Linked DNA regions of Homo sapiens: region 2 is linked to region 1. The links are contacts of gene promoters, found by promoter capture Hi-C in blood cells and fetal thymus (Javierre and others, 2016). All regions are on one chromosome and are shown on one strand. The core of a region is centred on a gene start or on the middle of the fragment in contact, and the rest is flanking DNA. Distances in the headings are between cores, read along the strand shown. Region 1 holds the start of B4GALNT1 (beta-1,4-N-acetyl-galactosaminyltransferase 1). Region 2 overlaps GLI1 (GLI family zinc finger 1).

What was found. Contacts are between HindIII fragments. The CHiCAGO score rates a contact against its expected background, and 5 or more counts as called.
Region 2: a contact is called between a fragment that was not itself captured here and the fragment with the promoter of B4GALNT1 in region 1, in 5 of 17 cell types (total CD4 T cells, naive B cells, total CD8 T cells and 2 more). The highest score is 7.4, in total CD4 T cells.

Annotation. Positions count from the first base shown.
Region 1 is chr12:57,631,675-57,634,974 of GRCh38, forward strand. B4GALNT1 (beta-1,4-N-acetyl-galactosaminyltransferase 1) reads right to left here and starts at 1,527. Exons shown (of 11, transcript NM_001478.5): 1 at 1,098-1,527; 2 at 241-459. The coding sequence starts at 458. RefSeq lists an enhancer at 757-1,718 and a silencer at 1,261-1,560. The HindIII fragment of the contact is 8,071 bases long and covers 1-3,300 here.
Region 2 is chr12:57,470,317-57,473,904 of GRCh38, forward strand. It overlaps GLI1 (GLI family zinc finger 1), which reads left to right. Exons shown (of 12, transcript NM_005269.3): 12 at 1-1,952. The coding sequence ends at 1,745. It overlaps ARHGAP9 (Rho GTPase activating protein 9), which reads right to left. Exons shown (of 18, transcript NM_032496.4): 17 at 3,287-3,392; 18 at 1,953-2,372. The coding sequence ends at 2,201. Among named protein-coding and RNA genes, the nearest start is that of ARHGAP9, 7.8 kb to the right of the region's middle. The HindIII fragment of the contact is 4,786 bases long and covers 1-3,588 here.

The DNA.
Region 1 (3,300 bases), core at 277-2,776:
GGGCCCTCCCTTGACTGCACAACCTCCCACGCCCATCCCCATCCTTATCCCCATGGCAAGGTTCAGGGAGAACAGATTTTCCCCAGCCCAAGCCTCAGCAGCCTCCCACTTCCACCTCCCACTTCACTCCACACAGCCCGTTAGGAGAATGCAGGCATCTGAGCCCAGCAGTGGAGAAAACAAAAGCCCCCAGACCACCCCCAGCGAGCGCTGCGCTGCGCCGCCGCGGTCGGCACTCACCCCACTACTTGCTCCTTGATCCTGACCGGGATGTGTGCGTAGCGGGGCTCAGGAGCAAGATCTGGCAGCTCGGGCCTGCGGGGGCTTTGCGGGGGCGCCCACGGCGCAAGAGGTAGCCGGAGGCCGGGCGCGTCCCGGGTGCTCGCGTACAGGAGCCCCAGCGAGGCGCAGGCGAGCAGAAGGACCAGAGCGCACAGGGCCCGGCGGCCCAGCCACATCCTAGGTGGGGGTAGGGTGGGGAGTGAGAAAGGGAGGGAAGAAGGGAGGGCAAGGGATGGGGCCCTTGGCCCCCGCGTCCTCAGAGGCTCCTGCCGGCTCCCAAGAGCGCTCTCCACTCCACACATCGCGCTAGGGTTTGCACTGCCAGCCGCGGTTTTCCCGGTACCCCTCCCCTCACTTCCCAGGCCCCAGGGTCTCCCGGCCTCCTTTCTTCTCGCCCTCTCCTGCATCTCGGTTTCCTCACACACCCGAGGCCTGGCATCTTAATGCTGAAGACATTTGGATGCCGCGGTTTCGACGCGGCCGTGCGTAAGCGGAAAAGCCCCGCTCTATCAGGGCAGTGGCAGTCCCCAAGCCCGCCGCCCGCCCTGGCCGGCGCGCCCCCGACTCCTCAGTCTGAGCATCACCTGGGCCGGGGTGGGCTGCGGAGGGCGGCTCCACACCTAGCCTGTCAGGAAAAAATGCAGAATCATGCCCGTGCTGGCGGGCGCCCCCGGCGGAGGTGACCCGATGAGTGGCCTCGGCAAGCGGCGCGGGGGACAGAGTGGACCGGGAAGCGCGCCTCCTCCCGCCTCCTCCCGCCTCCTCCTCCTCCCCTCACCAACCAATCCCACCCCCACCCACCCCCGGGCACTGACCTGTCTAACGCTCTAAGGCAGCGGCAAAATTTCGGTCCGGGCTGTGCCGGGCTCTCGCCCCGGCCTGAGGGTCCTCATGGGGCTGGGGGCTGCCCGATGGGGGAGCTGGGCATGAGCCTGAGGGTGTGGGGGACCCTCCTGCCTCTGGAGCGCGCCCGATCCCTCCCGTCTTGGAACTCCCGGGGCTTTTGTGGAGCGCGGCGCGGTGGTGGTTCTGGGCGTTTCCTGCCCGGGGGCGGTTGGCGGGGCGCGAGGACCAAGTTAAGAGTCTGTTGCACCCCAGCCCCGGGGCAAAGCCGGGGATCCCTGGCTCCGCGTCCCACTGGCAGCGCGGGGAGGGCTCTGGCCGCCGCCCGGCTCTTCGCACCGCAGCGCAGCGCGGCTCAGCTCCCGGCTCGTTGCGGCTGCTTCGGCTCCGCGCGGGGAATGCGAGCGCCCCGGCGCCTTCTAGTGGGCGCGGAGGAAACTGCGGGGGCGCGGAGCAAACGCGGGAAGGTCCTCGCTCACAGCCCCCAGTCCTTAGCCTCCAAACACTGGCATCTCAACCGCCTGCTCCCACGACATCCATTCCATTGCCTGCTCGTTCTGAGCTTGTAGGCAAGGATGGGCAAATAAGGGCTTTGGGAGGAGGTAGGGCGGGGGCGCGCTAAAACTCAAGTCAAGTTTGAATGTTAGGATGAAGATAAAGGAAACAACCCCTGGAAAATAAACGCTCTGCCTGGCTAACAAAGACTGAGGCACAGCCTCCCTCTCCCCCTCCTCCCCGCCCTGCCCCCCATTATTTAACAGACACTCAAGAGATACACACTGGGTAATTGAAGGCCCTATTTCCCCGAACTGCCGCTTGGTGCAACCTTGCAGGAGGAAGGGAACCCCAGAGAGGCCAGATTGGCGGTAGTTCTGCTTGCAAGCCTTAGGTCATAGCCTGATACCTCACATTGCCGAGAATCGGAGTTCTGTGGCTCCGTGGTTCTAATAAAAGATGCATCAAGATTCAATAGGAAAAAAAGATATAACAAGAAATATAGAACATAACGAAAATATGTGTGTGTGTGTGTGTGTGGTGGATTATTGAATGAATGAATTTTATACAAACAAATGACTAATCAGCTGGGGTGAAAGTGGAATCTCTACACTTCTTACACCAAAATTCCAAATGTATTAAATATTTTAATATTAAAGGTGAAATCATAAAAGTAGTGAAAGAAATCATGAAACCCGGCGCAGTGGCTCATGCTTGTAATCTCAGCACTTTGGGAGGCTGCGATAGGAGACCAGGAGTTCGAGACCAGCCTGGGCAACATGGTGAGACCCCCCCCCCCCCCCGTCTCTACAAAAAATTTAAAAATTAGCCCAGCAAGATGGCTCACACCTGTAGTCCAACTACTTAGGAGGCTGAAGTGGGAAGATTGCTTGAGCTCGGGAAGTTGAAGCTGCAGTGAGCTGAGATGGTGCCATGGCACTGTAGCCTGGGTGACAGAGCGAGACTCTGTCTCAAAAGAAGAAATCATGGAATTTTTGTTTTGTTTATGATCTTGGAGTAGGGAAGAGATCTCTAAGCCAGATGTAAAGGGAAATATTAATAAATCTGACTATATGAAAAACTTGAGTGAAGAAATTAACATACACTAAATTTGAGAGAGAAATGACAAACTGTGAAAAAATATTTGTAACATATAAGACAGGTATACTTTATCTGGTTGGTGCCCCCAGCGGAGATGACCAGGAATGAATTATGAACCATTGAAAACATAGGAATCCATGACTCCACACTGATAATACATAGATAATTAATTAATTAATTAATTAAATGAATGAAGGAGAAGGGAGAATGCCAATTAATAAATGTGGAGGGAGCTGATGGAGTTGGAAAATAACTATTTTTTAAAATTTTATTTTATTATTATTATACTTTAAGTTTTAGGGTACATGGGCACAATGTGCAGGTTAGTTACATATGAATACATGTGCCATGCTGGTGTGCTGCACCCATTAACTCGTCATTTAGCATTAGGTATATCTCCTAAAGCTATTCCTCCCCCCTCCCCCCATGAAAATAACTATTTTGCAACCATCAGAGTAAAAGTTGGTTTGGGCAAGAATTATCAATGAATGCTAATTCTAGGGGGAAAGTTTGACAGAAGCAGCTTATGTACGTAGCTTAAAGTATCTCCCCATAGTTGGCTTATTCGTTGCAAGAGGA
Region 2 (3,588 bases), core at 151-2,650, 160 kb before region 1:
GTACCACTGTGTCCCGCCGCGTGGGCCCCCCAGTCTCTCTTGAACGCCGCAGCAGCAGCTCCAGCAGCATCAGCTCTGCCTATACTGTCAGCCGCCGCTCCTCCCTGGCCTCTCCTTTCCCCCCTGGCTCCCCACCAGAGAATGGAGCATCCTCCCTGCCTGGCCTTATGCCTGCCCAGCACTACCTGCTTCGGGCAAGATATGCTTCAGCCAGAGGGGGTGGTACTTCGCCCACTGCAGCATCCAGCCTGGATCGGATAGGTGGTCTTCCCATGCCTCCTTGGAGAAGCCGAGCCGAGTATCCAGGATACAACCCCAATGCAGGGGTCACCCGGAGGGCCAGTGACCCAGCCCAGGCTGCTGACCGTCCTGCTCCAGCTAGAGTCCAGAGGTTCAAGAGCCTGGGCTGTGTCCATACCCCACCCACTGTGGCAGGGGGAGGACAGAACTTTGATCCTTACCTCCCAACCTCTGTCTACTCACCACAGCCCCCCAGCATCACTGAGAATGCTGCCATGGATGCTAGAGGGCTACAGGAAGAGCCAGAAGTTGGGACCTCCATGGTGGGCAGTGGTCTGAACCCCTATATGGACTTCCCACCTACTGATACTCTGGGATATGGGGGACCTGAAGGGGCAGCAGCTGAGCCTTATGGAGCGAGGGGTCCAGGCTCTCTGCCTCTTGGGCCTGGTCCACCCACCAACTATGGCCCCAACCCCTGTCCCCAGCAGGCCTCATATCCTGACCCCACCCAAGAAACATGGGGTGAGTTCCCTTCCCACTCTGGGCTGTACCCAGGCCCCAAGGCTCTAGGTGGAACCTACAGCCAGTGTCCTCGACTTGAACATTATGGACAAGTGCAAGTCAAGCCAGAACAGGGGTGCCCAGTGGGGTCTGACTCCACAGGACTGGCACCCTGCCTCAATGCCCACCCCAGTGAGGGGCCCCCACATCCACAGCCTCTCTTTTCCCATTACCCCCAGCCCTCTCCTCCCCAATATCTCCAGTCAGGCCCCTATACCCAGCCACCCCCTGATTATCTTCCTTCAGAACCCAGGCCTTGCCTGGACTTTGATTCCCCCACCCATTCCACAGGGCAGCTCAAGGCTCAGCTTGTGTGTAATTATGTTCAATCTCAACAGGAGCTACTGTGGGAGGGTGGGGGCAGGGAAGATGCCCCCGCCCAGGAACCTTCCTACCAGAGTCCCAAGTTTCTGGGGGGTTCCCAGGTTAGCCCAAGCCGTGCTAAAGCTCCAGTGAACACATATGGACCTGGCTTTGGACCCAACTTGCCCAATCACAAGTCAGGTTCCTATCCCACCCCTTCACCATGCCATGAAAATTTTGTAGTGGGGGCAAATAGGGCTTCACATAGGGCAGCAGCACCACCTCGACTTCTGCCCCCATTGCCCACTTGCTATGGGCCTCTCAAAGTGGGAGGCACAAACCCCAGCTGTGGTCATCCTGAGGTGGGCAGGCTAGGAGGGGGTCCTGCCTTGTACCCTCCTCCCGAAGGACAGGTATGTAACCCCCTGGACTCTCTTGATCTTGACAACACTCAGCTGGACTTTGTGGCTATTCTGGATGAGCCCCAGGGGCTGAGTCCTCCTCCTTCCCATGATCAGCGGGGCAGCTCTGGACATACCCCACCTCCCTCTGGGCCCCCCAACATGGCTGTGGGCAACATGAGTGTCTTACTGAGATCCCTACCTGGGGAAACAGAATTCCTCAACTCTAGTGCCTAAAGAGTAGGGAATCTCATCCATCACAGATCGCATTTCCTAAGGGGTTTCTATCCTTCCAGAAAAATTGGGGGAGCTGCAGTCCCATGCACAAGATGCCCCAGGGATGGGAGGTATGGGCTGGGGGCTATGTATAGTCTGTATACGTTTTGAGGAGAAATTTGATAATGACACTGTTTCCTGATAATAAAGGAACTGCATCAGAAAAAATACCATGCCACTTTATGTATTATTATGTTGGGGAGGAATGATAACAGGGAACAAGAAGAGAAGCAGGGGTTAATCCACTCACTTTCCTCTTTAGAGAAGCTCCCTCACCCATCCCAACACCTCAAGTCACACTCATGAAGATAGAGACAGTCATTTGGGAGATTTAAAGGGATATCCTCAAAACAGAACACCAGCCTCTCACCACCAGAGATGACCGGAAATATGTTTTCTCTTCTTCCTTCCCTGCATCAGGGGAAGAGGCTGGTGAAGTTGGTGAGCATCAGCTGGACCAGCTGCCCTGGGTAGAGAGCATGGGCTGCTGGGTCAGATGTCTCCTGCTCTGGCCGAAACAGGGTTGGTCCAAACACAATTCCCAGGTTGTGGGGTGTCATGCGATTCTTATCTGAGTGTGCTATCACCCTGTAAGCAAAGGCCAAGGAAGGGGATATATGGCAGCAGCTTGCCACTTCATAGCAATCTAACTAACCCTTCAAAGTTCTGAGCAGGGAAGAGTTCACTCTGGGATTCCTCCACATGGTAACAAAAAAACCAAGGAGATACAAGGAGAATGGAGATGGACCAGTGGAGAAACCTTCAGGATACAACCTGAAGATATAACTGCCTCTTCCGACTTCAGGGGCTGCCCCAAGAGTTCTGCCTGCTCACAGTTTGGGAGTCTTTAATTCAAGTGGCCATCCTCTCTCAGAAGTCACTGCCCAGGCCCAGTTCAACCAAAGAAGCCATCAGCAATGTCCCAATGGGAGACAAAGAGGCAGAGGGAAGGGAGAAGTAAGATTTCCCTTATTCCTTTCACAGCATCTTGGTTCCATTTCCCCACTTGATGCTGACCTTTAGGTTTTGACCTAAAGTCTTTGACGGGCACGGTGTAATCCCAGCACTTTGGGAGGCTGAGGTGGGTAAATCACCTGAGGTCAGGAGTTCGAGACCAGCCTGGCCAACATGGTGAAACCCCGTCTCTACTAAAAATACAAAAATTAGCCAGGCGTGGTGGCGGGCACCTGTAATCCCAGTTACTCAGGAGGCTGAGGCAGGAGAATTACTTGAACCCGGGAGGCAGAGGTTGCAGTGAGCTGAAATTGCGCCACTGCACTCCAGTCTGGGTGACAGAGCGAGACTCTGTCTCAAAAATAAATAAAATAAAAAAATAAAGGTTTTGACTCTGGTAATATGCTCCTGCACAGAGGTTGCCTGCTTCCTCACCTGCCCATTAAACTTAGGTGCTTCCCTACCTTCACTCCACCTGCACAGAGTCCCTGTGGCATTCCCCACTCCACCTTTCCCCAGCATGAACAAAGAGGTTCTGTCTTCCTGACCTGCATAAATGCTCCAGGAGGTACCGTAGAGTGTCATGGTTGGGCTTTGGCATTGAGCCTATTAATTCTTGTATCTGAGAGAGGCACTGCTCTGATTCGGAGAGTGCTAGAGAGAGTGATGGGAAAGGCATGGTAGTAAGGTTAGGGAAGGTGCTAGGACAGGATGGGTAAATGCACTGCTCTTTCCCACAGGCATGGAAGACATCATTAATCTAGCACAGCTTTCTTTTTCACATAGCCCAACTATAGCCTCATAATTCTTTTCAATTCAGCCCTCTAAACATTCACAAAAAAGCAACTGG